Linked DNA regions of Homo sapiens: all the other regions are linked to region 1. Evidence: promoter capture Hi-C in 16 types of primary human blood cells and fetal thymus (Javierre and others, 2016). All regions are on one chromosome and are shown on one strand. Each heading gives the region's core, a stretch centred on a gene start or on the middle of the fragment in contact. The rest is flanking DNA. Distances are from core to core; before and after follow the strand shown. Region 1 holds the start of MRPL36 (mitochondrial ribosomal protein L36). Region 2 overlaps CEP72-DT (CEP72 divergent transcript). Region 3 overlaps AHRR (aryl hydrocarbon receptor repressor). Region 4 overlaps CCDC127 (coiled-coil domain containing 127). Region 5 has its middle 4.4 kb from the start of PDCD6-DT.

What was found. Contacts are between HindIII fragments. The CHiCAGO score rates a contact against its expected background, and 5 or more counts as called.
Region 2: a fragment that was not itself captured here is called in contact with the fragment with the promoter of MRPL36 in region 1 in 1 of 17 cell types (neutrophils); the score reaches 6.2 in neutrophils.
Region 3: a contact is called between a fragment that was not itself captured here and the fragment with the promoter of MRPL36 in region 1, in 2 of 17 cell types (monocytes and neutrophils). The highest score is 8.4, in monocytes.
Region 4: a contact is called between a fragment that was not itself captured here and the fragment with the promoter of MRPL36 in region 1, in 1 of 17 cell types (total B cells). The highest score is 7.5, in total B cells.
Region 5: a fragment that was not itself captured here is called in contact with the fragment with the promoter of MRPL36 in region 1 in 2 of 17 cell types (neutrophils and monocytes); the score reaches 6.1 in neutrophils.

Annotation. Positions count from the first base shown.
Region 1 is chr5:1,798,411-1,801,110 of GRCh38, reverse strand. It overlaps MRPL36 (mitochondrial ribosomal protein L36), which reads left to right and starts at 1,274. Exons shown (of 2, transcript NM_032479.4): 1 at 1,274-1,319; 2 at 2,164-2,700. The coding sequence starts at 2,176. The coding sequence ends at 2,487. RefSeq lists enhancers at 75-204, 265-314 and a silencer at 1,395-1,804. The HindIII fragment of the contact is 7,489 bases long and covers 1-2,700 here.
Region 2 is chr5:601,410-604,109 of GRCh38, reverse strand. CEP72-DT (CEP72 divergent transcript) reads left to right here. Exons shown (of 3, transcript NR_103444.1): 3 at 1,266-1,941. It overlaps LOC105374608 (a long non-coding RNA gene), which reads right to left. Exons shown (of 8, transcript XR_007058672.1): 2 at 2,600-2,700; 3 at 1-93. Among named protein-coding and RNA genes, the nearest start is that of CEP72-DT, 9.4 kb to the left of the region's middle. RefSeq lists enhancers at 348-848, 849-1,349. The HindIII fragment of the contact is 3,558 bases long and covers 1-2,700 here.
Region 3 is chr5:436,297-438,996 of GRCh38, reverse strand. It overlaps AHRR (aryl hydrocarbon receptor repressor), which reads right to left. Exons shown (of 11, transcript NM_001377236.1): 11 at 712-2,700. PDCD6-AHRR (PDCD6-AHRR readthrough (NMD candidate)) reads right to left here. Exons shown (of 13, transcript NR_165163.2): 13 at 712-2,700. Among named protein-coding and RNA genes, the nearest start is that of EXOC3-AS1, 5.5 kb to the left of the region's middle. The HindIII fragment of the contact is 1,212 bases long and covers 801-2,012 here.
Region 4 is chr5:204,572-207,271 of GRCh38, reverse strand. It overlaps CCDC127 (coiled-coil domain containing 127), which reads left to right. Exons shown (of 3, transcript NM_145265.3): 3 at 1,314-2,700. The coding sequence ends at 1,975. Among named protein-coding and RNA genes, the nearest start is that of CCDC127, 12 kb to the left of the region's middle. The HindIII fragment of the contact is 337 bases long and covers 1,212-1,548 here.
Region 5 is chr5:265,741-268,440 of GRCh38, reverse strand. It overlaps a transcript of SDHA not described here. Among named protein-coding and RNA genes, the nearest start is that of PDCD6-DT, 4.4 kb to the left of the region's middle. The HindIII fragment of the contact is 7,069 bases long and covers 1-2,700 here.

The sequences.
Region 1 (2,700 bases), core at 25-2,524:
GCTAGAGCTAGGGCCCTGATGAGGCAGGCAATGGTGTGCGAAACCTTCAGCGATTAGGAGTACCCAGTGGTTCTTATTTAGCGGACAGGCAGGGGAGGATGTAAACTGAAAATACATTGTTTATATTCTTATGGTAACCGATAATCATGAGACATTTAAATATCAAAATTATTGGGTGAAGGAGTCAACTGCTTAGCAGACGAGACTGGAAGTGCATTCTCCTCGTTCAAGGCAAGCGTTCCTGTGTGTGGTTACGGGGAGCCGCAGAGGAAACGTATATTGGGGATTTCTGCAACAAAGCCTAGTACACCGACTGATTTTACAGCATGCAAATACAGCCTCTAAAAAGGCCCGTTTTGCTTAGAGTTGACTTGGGTATAAATCCCAGCTTAAGCTCCAGCATCCAGCTTTTCTTTTGCTGTGGTCAGAGCCTGAGGACCACGTGACTCCAAGAACAAAACACTAGAGATGGATGAGTGGCGGGGAAGATGATAAAGAGGAGGAAAGGCATGAGAAACAAGAATGCACATGAAAACCTCCGGTCCCAAAGATGTCCCAGCAAACGTGGTGGTCAGAGGCAGATTTGTCCTGGAGCTGATAAACTCCAGCGGCCCGCCCGGTGTTCGCCGGGTCAGGTGGAAAAAGTGGGCGCTGCGATGAAGCGTTGGGGCCTGCAGGGAGCGCGGAGTGGACGCAGCCACGTCTGCAACTCACCCGGACACACACAAAAAGGAAGGCGAATGGAGTTACGGGTAGATACCTGAAAAGGCAGGGATAAGCGAGCTAAGGGTAGAATCTAGGTGGCAAGTATATGGGTGTTCACCGTACAGTTCTTTCCCTTTTTCTCTATGTCCGAAGTTTTTCATAATGTTGGGGAAAACAGCCGTAACCAGTTGAAACTACTGCCCGTCTCCACTCGTTTCCCGGAGCCTGTTTACATTTCTCCTGTCCACTTAAAAACATGTCCTCTTTCTCAGTTTGTTTTGACATTGGTATTTGCCAGTTTTTTCTAAGGCCTAAGTGGTTGTAATTTCTTTTTCGTTGCGGATATCCATTTTCGTTCCTGGTTTTTGCATTTTTTTTCCCGAGAGCGCTCCAAACAGCACGACGATCCCGGTGGCCCGCAGAGTGCGCGCAGTCGGGGAGTGATACGTCGCACTCCAGCGCCTGCGCACTCGCTGCTGCGTCTCTGCGCCCCGCACTGGACGTGGGCACGCCACGTGACCCCCCCCCCCGCCGCCATCTTCCTTCCTGGCAGCAGCGTCCGCGTGCCAGTGCGCAGACGCAGGGGTCGGCGCCGGGTGAGAGCGTGCGGCCGGGTAAGGGAGCCGTCTTCTCAGGTCAGGGGTCCCGGGTGTCTTGAGAGTGGGGGCTGCGAGAGGGTGGGGCCGGCCACCTTGGGACCCTCGGGCGTGTCTCCCCGAGTGGGCTGCGGTCAGAGGAGCGTGGGCCGGGGCCTGGCGGTCTCAGAGGGCCAGGGTTGGGGGGTGCGGGTCCGACCGTGGGCGCCCGACCTGGCGACAGGAGGGGGTGTCCAGCGACCCCGGGGCGGGAGAACTGGCGGCTCCCGAACGCGACCTCACAGCCCGCGCGCAGGGCCGGCTCCGGTGCCGCAGTGTCCTCCGGGCCCTGCAGGCCCAGCTCTTCCCAGCCGGGGCCGCTGAACCCTAAGGGCCGGGGCGCGTGGGGAAGCAGGGGCGGGCGACCGGGGTGCCAGAGTTCCGTGCTCTTCCGGAGCGGGGGCCTGTCCCGAAACTGGCCCGAGGGAGGGCCCCTGGGTCTGGGAAGAGTTGGAGGGAGGAGCTCATCAGTTGAACCGTCCTTGACCTGGTGTCTGTTTGGAAAGGGATGCGGCCTAAGTTTAAGCTCCCTCCCAGCCAAGTGAGCGGCTCCTCAACATCGCAGGGCTTTGCACACTCACCTACACTTGCAGCAGGCGGGAAAGGGAAGGAAGCCACCGTCCACTGCCCCTTATTCTCCTGGCACACTTGGCTGATTAAGGCAGTGTTCAAGCTCAGGTCGAGGCTGCAGCTGGTATGGGAACACCCTCAGTCCCCGAGGTCCCTGCCTTCCCAAGCCTCAGTGAAACAGAGAAAAGGAAGCCTTAAAGAGCAGGTGGAAGTGCAGGAGAAGCTATAACTCCTTTTTTTCTCTCTCCCATAGATTCACCACAACATGGCAAATCTTTTTATAAGGAAAATGGTGAACCCTCTGCTCTATCTCAGTCGTCACACGGTGAAGCCTCGAGCCCTCTCCACATTTCTATTTGGATCCATTCGAGGTGCAGCCCCCGTGGCTGTGGAACCCGGGGCAGCAGTGCGCTCACTTCTCTCACCCGGCCTCCTGCCCCATCTGCTGCCTGCGCTGGGGTTCAAAAACAAGACTGTCCTTAAGAAGCGCTGCAAGGACTGTTACCTGGTGAAGAGGCGGGGTCGGTGGTACGTCTACTGTAAAACCCATCCGAGGCACAAGCAGAGACAGATGTAGACCCTTTCCCTCCAGAGTCACGCACATACTCGTCATCGCATCACTTGGGAGAATGGTTGTATCTTATGGAAGGAATTATCACATCAAGGAGTCAGGGGAAAGTGACTGGAAGCAAACGCCCTAAAAGTTACCCATCACGTTTCAGTGTAAATGAGTAACTATAGAAGACATTGCGTTATCTTATTTCCAAAACGTTCCAACTAAAAAACATTT
Region 2 (2,700 bases), core at 76-2,575, 1.2 Mb after region 1:
CCTTGGGATGATGAGGGCAAAGAAAATTGGCATCACTGGGGTCCCCAACCCGGGCTCCAAACCAAGGTCACTGCTGCTAGGACTAGACTGTGGCTAAGAGAAAGAAAACACAACAGCTGAGTGACTGTTGCACCCAATGCCTTCCTGTGGACCCTGGCATCTGCCGAGGTGGCGGGCAGAGCTTAGGTGGCGCGGGCACAGCTTAGGTGGCACAGGCACGTGTGCAGGTGCCCGTAACAAGGCCTGGAAGGAGGCTGTGCCTGCCCAGCGGAGGGACCCCCTTTCTCTGTGGGGAGATAGAGCCCCGGGAGGGGGCAGGAGCTGGAGCATGGGAGTGGCTGGGGCTGCGGAGGGGAGCTCTGGAGGACCCCACCTTCCCAGGGCTAGGACAGAGGGAGCCGGCTGCTGGGGACGTCCCTCCATCTGCTCAGACAGAGGGAGCTGGCTGCTAGGGACGTCCCTCCGTCTGTTTGGACACAGGGAGCTGGCTGCTGGGGACGTCCCTCCGTCTGCTCGGACAGAGGGAGCTGGCTGCTGGGGACGTCCCTCCGTCTGCCTGGTGTCCAGCCTGGCCTGAGTCCAGGTCCGAGCAGTCTGTGTGGATGAAGGAGCGGGTTGGGATGGGGAATAAACAAAAGCCTGAAATGTAATCAGCCGGCTTCGCAGCTATGGCGAGCGGGCAGGCCTCCTGCATCCTGGTAGTCAGCACTGAGCCCGCTGGAGCCAGCCTTGTCCTCAGAGGCAGCACCGGGAGAATGCAGTGCAGGTGACAGGGGACCTTTGCTGCCCAGAGGCATGTGGTCTATTGGCTGCACGTTTGTGCTCCTGCAGGAGTCACGGGTGGAACCCCAACCCCAGTGCTGCGGTGTGTGGAGTGGGGTCCTCCCAGTGGGATCAGTGCCCTCATAGGAGAGGGCTGCCCTCCCCTTTCTCTGTCGCACCGGGAAACCAGGAAGGGCCCTCACTAGGAGGCCAGTCAGCTGGTGCCAGGATCTCCGGCTTCCACCCCAGAGTGGTGGGAGCTTCCTGTGTCTGCTGCTCAACAAACCTATGTCTGCTGCTCGGGTTGCCCGTGTGTGGTTTTCTGCTATGGCCACCTGAGCTGATTAAGACCTCCCCCAAAATCTGTGCAAAACCCCAGCGCTTCGAATGTCACCTCTGAGGCAAAAGCTGTGATAAACATAGGGATCTTAAGAGGTGCTTTTCCTGGGTTATCGGGGGGTGGGGCCTGGGGGTCTAAATGCATTCACCAATGTCCTTCTAAGAGACAGAAGAGAGACACAGAGAGAAGAGGCACAGAGGAGCCGGCCATGGAGCGATACAGCAGAAGCTGGAGGCGACGGGAGGATCCTGGCCCAGAGCCTCGGGAGGGAGTGGGGGCCGTGTTCCAGAAGCCTGAGAGTCCTGCGTGTTGTTCTGAGCCCCTAAGGCTGGGGTAGCTTGTTCCAGCAGTCATGGGAAACTGACACATCCCAAACACAGCAGCACGAGAACATAGGACTGAGACACCATCCCCATCACGCCCCAACACACGAAGACTGACGGTGGCGGGTGCTGCACATCTCAGCCGGAGCTCTGAAGGCATTTAGCTGAGCGCTGGCCTGCACCTGGAGAGAGTGAGAGACACCAGCCTCCACTGCCAGGAAGGCCCAGGGTCCTCAGGGACCAAGACGCAGGAGACGGCCGCTGCCAGGGTCCTCGGGACTTCTGTGTGGCCTTCGCTACCGGAGCCCTGAGGCGCCATCCCCATGTGCCCTTCGGGCTGGTCCAGGAGGAGGCCCTGCGGCGGCCACAGACTGGGGGGACAAAGCCCCAGGAACTCAGAACCTTGTGGGTTTTGGAAGAGGAGCCGCGCAGCAAGGTCCCGACGCCTGCAGGGAGCTGAACGGGGAGCCGCGCGAGGAAGGGAGTGCAGCAGACCCAGTACGCAAATGCTGACCCTACAAAACGCACCGCGGGTTCTCGAGCCGTGGGGATCCCGGCGGTGCTCTCCAGAGACCGCAGCTGCAGGAGCTGGGCGGTCCCCGGCAGGTGCCACGAGGGTGCGATCTCGGCCGAGAACCACCAGGCGTCCACGTCCACGGAGGGACTCATTCTCCGTGCCCATCTCACAGGGAGCAAAGGAGGCGGAGGGAGCCCCGGACTCACTGGGTTCTGACCCAGACCCTTCTCTTCTGCAGGGTGGAGTCCTCCTCCCAGAGAAGCCCAGACGTTCGTTTGGGAGACCCAGGGACACTCGGGGCCATCACCTGCCCCTCACTGGGGCTCCCAGGGGAGACTTCACGCAGTGCCCAGTGTCCTCCCGCTGGGATCCTCCTGCCCCCGAGGGGCGCCCGTGTCCCCCAGCACCCCAAGGAAGAGAATGAGCTGTCTTTGGCGGGTGCTGTGCTATTTTCTGTCCTTATTTCACCTAGAATGGCCATTTCCAGAACTCAATCCCTGCAAATGAATTTCTTCTAACGCCCCTTTTCAGTATCAAGGAGCAGGAAGCAATATCCTTTAAAAACCGATCGGCCATACATTTCTGCTCATTAAATAAATATTTTTACTTTGGACCCGATTGATTTTTCAGACACACGGAACAATGGGACTGACTCACCTGTGTGCAGCTGGGAGCCTCCTTCCTCCCCGGGGACCTTTGAAGTCACAGTGAGGCGGCCACACCTGGTGCACAGGTGGAGCCCGGCCGATAGGCACCTG
Region 3 (2,700 bases), core at 157-2,656, 1.4 Mb after region 1:
AATGCGGGAACTCCATCTGCCTGAGGCCACAGAGGAGAGGGCATGGGGGGCAGGGTGGGTCAAGTTGTGGGGCCACAGATGGGAGGGCTGGCCTGGTCCTGGGGGAGGACACGGGAGTCTTACACGAGTGACCAGGACGGGTTTGCTGATGGGCTGCAGGGTGCGAAGGAGGCCTGGCAGGGGCTGCGCAGGCTCTAAAGATGCCTGAAAGGAAACAAAAGCGCAGCTCCCTGGGCCTTGGACTGCCGTTTGTGCTTAAGGAGACCCCAGCACTTTTTTCGATGGCATTGAGGGGTCTGGCCGTAATCTGCCTGGGCCCTTCCCCCTTCCCATGGGCTTGTCGTGCAGGCCCTGTGCCAGGCAGGGTGGACCCCGCATGGCCCCGGACCCACAGTGCCCTCAGCTCTACCCTCCTCACTTCTTACAGGACGGGTCAGGTCTGGGACGTCCTGAGAGCACCCAGGAGGGGCCCTGACCCTCAGTGACAGGGGAGGGGGGCCTAGGCCCTCTCTAGATGCCACTGGTCAGGAGCAGGGAGATGGCAGGCATTTTCTCCTCCTTCACGAGGCTTGCGGCTCTAGAGTTTTTATTTTTATTGCTGCCTTATATTTAGTGGTGAAAGGCTGTCTTAGAATGTAGATTAACCAGCACACTCTTTAAAGGAAATAAAGTGACTTTGGAAAATCACGCAGACTTCCGCAAACATTTAAATTTTTGTTAAACATGTACTAGCATGTCATGTATTTTACATCAATATTGCAAATTTAATACAAACCACAGTACAAAAAAATTTGAAAGCTTCCTAAAGGCACTGAGAAAGCAGTAGAGAAAGTTGCATTTATAGTGCATAAGTTTTAAAAATTCAACAAGTTGGTCTAGGTATTGAAAACTTTTTTCTTCCAGTAGAAACTGCAAAAATATAAGTTGTATTGATCTCCTCCCTTCCATCCCATTCCCACCTTATATTTGACTTTAATACTTTTTCAGCTATATAGGGAAAAGCTACATACACAGAAAAACATGAACCTGTAATTAGTGCTAACAATGACATTTTAGAGAGAAGTGATACATCCACACTTTCTATGTTCCATAGTCTTCCCCACTGTTTTCCAAGAGGGTTGTGGCTATAAAATAACCAAAGTGCTGACTTGGGGAGTTTTTGTTGCCGTTGAGGAAGGGATGTCGGACACCTCGCTGATCCCAGGCTCTCAGGGCCGCAGCCTCCTGTAGGGTCCCCACACCACAAAACCGGCAGAGCCAACACCCACGTGCTGAGTGCAGCGTCAACACAGCGTGGCCTGCCTGGCAGCAACCCACCACTCAATCTGGCACCTGTCACCAGGAGGGCCTTGGGCAGGGGCGCATCTAAAGGTCTGGGAGGCTGCAGGGCAGGACGTGGTGAAGAAGCCTCCTGGGCAGGGGCTGCCGTCTGTGCTTAAGGAGGCCCCAGTGCTCCTTTGATGACACTGAAGGGCCTGGCTACAATCGCAAACACGCAGCCACGTCTCTGATTCGATCTTTGGGGCCTGGTGTTTTTCCCAGTGACAGCCGTTGGCTCCAGGACACTCAAGACATGTGATACACAAGACTCTCAGTCACTGAGCTCCCTGCCCTCCTCGGCCCCGAGACTGGAAGAGCAGCTGCCACGTTTGGGACCCAGGCGGCGCCCAGGCTGAAGGGAGCTGCTGAGGGCTAAGCTCCAGGACACAGGACGTGGCTGGCCCTCAGAACAGGGAACTCCAAGAGTGGAACATGCATGTTGATTGAGACTTTTTCAGGGATACAGCAGATCTGATTTTTAATTATTTTTTGTAGAGACACATTCTTCCTGTGTTGCCCAGGCTGGTCTTGAACTCCTGGGCTTAAGCGATCCTCCTACCTTGACCTCCTAAAGTGCTGGGATTATAGGCATGAGCCACTGCGCCTGGCCTGCAGGCCTAATTATTAAGGGTCTTTCCATGATCAGCAAAGGAGCTGGGCACTCGGTTAGAATAGGAAGGAAGTGGGAAGCTTCTGAAATACCATCCTGGTCTTAAATCCATAAATGCCCAGAGGCCAGAAGTGTGCCATGCTCAGCATGAGAAATGAATAAAGAGGGGCTCTGTGCCAGTGTAGGGCCAAAGTGGGAAGTAGGCGCCAGTCCTCAGGTGCCTGGTCTTCACAGGTGCCTGCTCTCCACAGGTGACTGACCCTCAGGTGGCTGGTCACCCCATGGCTGGCCCCTGGGTAGCTCTGTCCCCATCGTGACTTTAGGCATCAGATAAGGGAGAGATGGCAGTGGAAGGCCATGAGCACGTCTCACACCCACGACAGCACAGCATGGAGGTCACCTTTTGAAAGACGCCCCCTGGCTAAGCAGAGAGTGAGTGCCCCCTCGGTAGGGCTTGGGGGTCATAGGGGGCCACGATGGATCTGTGACTCTGGGCTCAGATGGTTGGCTGTTCTCTTCCAGTACTGAGAGGAGATCCTTATCCCTATCCCTGCCACATGGGGGCAAACTGTCCAAGAACCAGGCCACTGAGAGGCGCAGGCACCTGGCATTGGGCAGAAGACCCAGTCCTGCCAACCAAACCTGGGTTTTGACAAAGTGAAGGTGCGTTTAACAAATGGGTCCAGCATTAAACCAGCATCTAAGTAAGCACTGACACCTCAAAGCCACTGACAACAGAGAGGGCGTCCACACAGGAGGCAGAATGCACA
Region 4 (2,700 bases), core at 131-2,630, 1.6 Mb after region 1:
GAGGAAGGATGAGTTTGGTTTTGTGCTTACTCAGTGAAGTGTCAACAGCATATCCAAGGGGGACTGGCTTTCAGGCTAATGGAAATCTTGCTGTTATGGAATTGCTCCCACAAAGGTCATTCATGACCCGGGAGAAAAGCAAAGGTGACCATTAATGACCTGGAAGAAAAAGGTGACCATTAATGACCCGGGAGAAAATAATTGAATGTCAAGGACACCACCTGGGTTGGGGGAGGCAGCAGGAGGAGGAAGAGAACCATTAAAGTTGATAGAAACTCCAGTGGTTCTAGAAGGGGCTGCAGACGAGGGAGTCCCACAGTTAGTAGGGGAGGGGTTACAGGATAGAAGCACACGAGGGAACCCAGACTGCTGCTCTCAGTGGCTTTTGGGGCCTTGGGCTTTGAAAATTTGCCAAACAGTTCTGTTTTCCAGAAGACTCAACTCCGTGCTGCTTTTAGAATGTACAAGCAGAACACGTCGCTGTTTGGAAAACTAAGACTTAGCATGCAGTTGCTCCAACATGCATGAAATTATTGAGCAGCATCAGTTCGGAATGTGGATGGAACTGTTATCACACGGTCTTTTTTTATTGTTGAAACACATCCAACTCTTACTTGTGGGATGGACAAAGGGTTGGTGGCTCTATACGGAGCCAGGTGCCTGCTGGCCAGCAGGCTGTGTGAGTCATCCGGTCTTAGAGGCGCTGGATTTCTCTGCAGTGCAGGCCAGCCCTGCTGCTCCTTGGTGTAGGGGGCAGAGCCGGGCAGTGCCCCCTCCAGCCTCCCAGCAATCTTCGTCCCGTTTTCGTGAGATTCCAGCAGTCTCCAGTTTGAGGAAAGAGGCCCACTGTGTCTTGAGGCTGAACTTCTTAACCCACTTTATTTTTATGTGTCCTTATCAGAACATAAGCAGTGTCTCAAACTCAGGCCGTTTACTAGTCGCCACCGGGCAAAGCTAAATACAACTTTTATAAGAACCTGGCCAACGGTAGTTGAAGTCGACCCAAACATTTTAAACTTTGCCAATTGTACTAGAGCCGGAGCAGGCAAATGGTGGTAGATCTTCTTAGCAACAAACAGTTAGAAGACGGAAAGGGCTAGGGTTAGGGTCTTTTGGTCACCCAGCCCTTACCTGGTTTTCAGATAAGAACTTGGCCTGTTACACATTTTCACGTAGAAGTGATCTTCTTGGTACAGCCGAGGTCTTAAGCTTTTACTGAAACACTATCCTTAGCTGCCTTATGATTTAAGTGAGGATTATAGAACTTCAGCCCTAACTTTTTCATTATGTGTATTTTTCTTCATTCATGTCAGGTTGGATTTGGTCTAGGGAGTCCCAGAAAGAAGTAGAAAAAGAGAGAGAAGCCTACCGTCGGAGAACTGCTGCTTTTCAACAGGATCTGGAAGCCAAGTACCACGCCATGATCTCAGAAAATCGGCGTGCTGTCGCTCAGTTGTCCTTGGAACTCGAAAAGGAACAAAACAGAACTGCTAGTTACCGAGAAGCCCTTATCTCTCAGGGACGCAAGTTGGTAGAAGAAAAGAAGCTTCTGGAACAGGAACGGGCCCAGGTGATGCAAGAAAAAAGACAGGTGCAGCCTTTGAGAAGTGCGTATTTGAGCTGCCTGCAAAGGGAAGAAAACTGGCAAAGGAGAGCCAGGCTTTTGCTGAAAGAATTTGAAGCTGTTCTCACAGAAAGACAGAATATCTACTGCAGTCTGTTTCTTCCTCGCAGCAAGCGGCTGGAGATAGAGAAGAGCTTACTGGTGCGAGCGTCCGTCGACCCCGTCGCCGCTGACCTAGAGATGGCAGCCGGTCTCACCGACATATTTCAGCATGATACATACTGTGGTGATGTCTGGAACACCAACAAACGCCAGAATGGCAGACTCATGTGGCTCTATCTCAAATACTGGGAACTCGTTGTCGAACTGAAGAAGTTTAAGAGAGTAGAGGAAGCCATACTAGAAAAGTAAGACAAGAGTGAAATCAAACTGCTTTTAGTGACTCGAGGCCAGGCAGTCATGCGCCTTCTGGGTCTCCGGCGTCTTCCGTTCCCGTGCTGCCCGTGTCATGGCCACACCGTCACCCTTCAGCAGCGACCTCCACTCCCGCCACCGTCTGAGCAGAAGTGCACCGAAGCCTCAGAGACAGAGGGTCTCCTCCCGATGCTCTGCCGCTGTTGGGGATATGGTTTCTTGAAGCATTTTTAGGCTGCCAGTATTGTATTAAGCAGAACAGTATAACCTCGTATTTTAGCTCCAGGGTAAAAATGGTTTTTTAAAAAGTCAAATACAATACTGGTCCTTACCACAAGTAATTTTCTGTCTGTTTCATCACTCCCTAAATACTTTCTCCTCAAATTATTTTTCTCTGTCACCAGATTACATTAAGAATTTGTCAGATAATGTGTAGAACTGCATAACAGGTAATAGGAAGTAGTAATATTATATTATCAAGGGTTTATATTTTAAAGATCTCTCTCACTCCATAAAGGGGAAATACCAAGTGTTTCTTGTATCCAGTTGTTACTTAATGTGTGTTTGTTGTATGCAGTTGTTACCTAATGTGTGTTTGTTGTATGCAGTTGTTACCTAATGTGTGTGTGTTGTATGCAGTTGTTACCTAATGTGTGTGTGTTGTATCCAGTTGTTACCTAATGTGTGTTTGGAATTTGGCTTGTGTCTGTATTCAGCAAGCA
Region 5 (2,700 bases), core at 89-2,588, 1.5 Mb after region 1:
TAATTCCAGCACTTTGGGAGGCTGAGGCGGGTGGATCAAGACCATCCTGGCTAACATGGTGAAACCTCGTCTCTACTAAAAATACAAAAAATTAGCCAGACGTGGTGGCAGGTGCCTGTAATCCCAGCTACTTGGGAGGCTGAGGCAGGAGAATGGCGTGAACCCGGGAGGCGGAGCTTGCAGTGAGCCGAGATTGCACCAGGCACTCCAGCCTGGGCAACAGAGTGAGACTCCGTCTCAAAAAAAAAAAAAGAAAGAAAAAACACCCTGCGTGCATACTCATATGAATGTACAAATGGATGAGTCTAGAACAAGAGATACTAGCCTGTTACATACACAAACTATGCAGCTGCAGTCCCTGCTGCTTCTACAACCCTGACCTCTAAGAAACCTCTAGCTCTGAATCCTGTCAGTACCTGGGCTGTGCTGCTTGGGACAACATTGTCTTCACAAGTCCTCTCCACATTCTCAGAGGTGGGGGTATTGCCAATGATGGGGGTTGCTGCCTGAGTCCCGTCACCAGGGGACAAAGCTACAGCAGAGACCACCATCTGCCAACAAAAAGAGAGATCATCTCCCACCCCTGGTTCTGCTGACCCAATCACTGGAAGCATCAAGGCACCACTATCTCCTCATCTGCCTCAGATTCAATTTCCTCCTAGCCAGGTCTGTTCTAAGCTCTCCAGAAGTTGAGAAATTAACTGAAAGATAACACTTTCCTCCCTGCATTAAGGTTCATCACATAATGTATCCAAATACTGGGTCAGTCTTTCCTTTGGTCTCGTTTCTCTCAGCTAATTTGAAAATGCCTTTTCTGTTTTCATTAGAATTTTTCTAAATGTTTCTGGGCACTTGTGTTCCTGAGGCTTTCCATAGTGCACCCTCTTATGCATCTGATGTCTTTGGCACATATAGGCCCTCAACAAGTATTTGTTAAATGAACAGATAACCATCCTGTCCTTTGTGTGAACAAGCATATGCAAGTGTACATTGTATCTGTACATGTATCCAACAGCATCCATCTGAAGCCACTTTGTTCGCTTATTTTCTCAGGATGACTGATGGCTGCATCATGACATTTGCACACAGAATCTTTTCTTCTCCAGTCACTTTTCCTTTTTCCAGATTCCCGCCATAGAATTCCAGGGACAGAGCCAACCATGCCTGGCACCCCCTCCTGTCCTGGGACAATGATACTTTCTCCCGTGACTCCCATCTTCCTTCCAACATTCTTCTGCTAGAATTCAGTAAGGAAGACAATGACTTACCACTTTTAATTTTTTCCCCTTTTTTGCTTTTCTACCAAATACTGCTTTTAACACAGGCTTTTCACTGAGTAGTGGACAATCTATCAGCTAGGTGCTATTCAGTGTGAGGGGCATTTGCAAAGGTCTGCATCAGTGCTGGCTGATGGAACTTTCTAGTGATAGCATCATTCTGTAGCTGCACTGTCCAGTGCAGAGGCTACTTGCCACTGTGGCTACTGCTCAGGATGGTGCAGGTCTGAATATCTTAGACACAGCGGCCACCGTGTCTACTGCACGGGACTGAATATTTTAGACACAGCGGCCACCGTGTCTACTGCACGGGACGGCGAGGGTCTGAATATCTTACAGACAGCGGCCACCGTGTCTACTGCACGGGACGGCGAGGGTCTGAATATCTCAGACACAGCGGCCACGGTGTCTACTGCACGGGACGGTGCAGGTCTGACTGTCTTAGACACAGCTCACCTTTGATCCGTGTTAGGAATTATCCACATCTCCTCTCTGGGCAATATTCTACTTTCTTTTTATATTGACCCAATTATTTTACTTCTTTGGTGTGTCCTTTCTCCTCACACACATGGGTTCACTTTAAAACCTTGAAACCCACATTTATAAAACATTTTCAATATGAAACATCGTTCCATGACTCATATAGTACTCCATGGAGTACTATAAACATTTACATTTCCAGACCACCCACTGCCCAGTGGTTTTCCTGGTCTCAGTACTCATGAAAATGGTCTGAAGGTTTGTTTTGGGTTCCTAAGCAGTAGACACACACACAACACTGCCTGTCAGTTATTTCTTGGAAACTAAATCAGCCCTTCTGTTGCCATCCTATCATGCTTCAGGGGTGCCTGTGCTAGTTTTTAATTCTTTGTCCTAACACTTAAATGTTTGCTCAAACGCCCATATTAATACTTCCTCTTAGTTTACAAAAGGATTTACTTTCTTACTGGTTGGGATGAAGCTGCCTGAGGTTGCCACCTGTTACTTTTCCTTCATTTATTGGACCAAGTCATCCCATTACATGTCAGCTGTGGAGGTTTTCAAACTGTGGTCCCTGGACATGTTAGAAATGCAAATTCTCAGGCCGAACCAGGACTGAACCGGAAGATCTGGGGTAGGGTCCCTCCAGGACTGAATCGGAAGGTCTGGGGTGGGGTTCCCCCAGGACTGAATCGGAAGATCTGGGGTAGGGTCCCCCCAGGACTGAATCGGAAGATCTGGGGTAGGGTTCCCCCAGGACTGAATCGGAAGGTCTCGGGTAGGGTCCCTCCAGGTGATCCTGTTACACAGGTTAGAGAACCACAGCATTGGGGTGGCAATTTGACAACTCTTTTTTTTTTTTTGAGACAGAATCTCGCTCTTGTTGCCCAGGCTGGAGTGCAATGGCGCACTCTTGGCTCACTGCAACCTCCGCCTCCCGGGT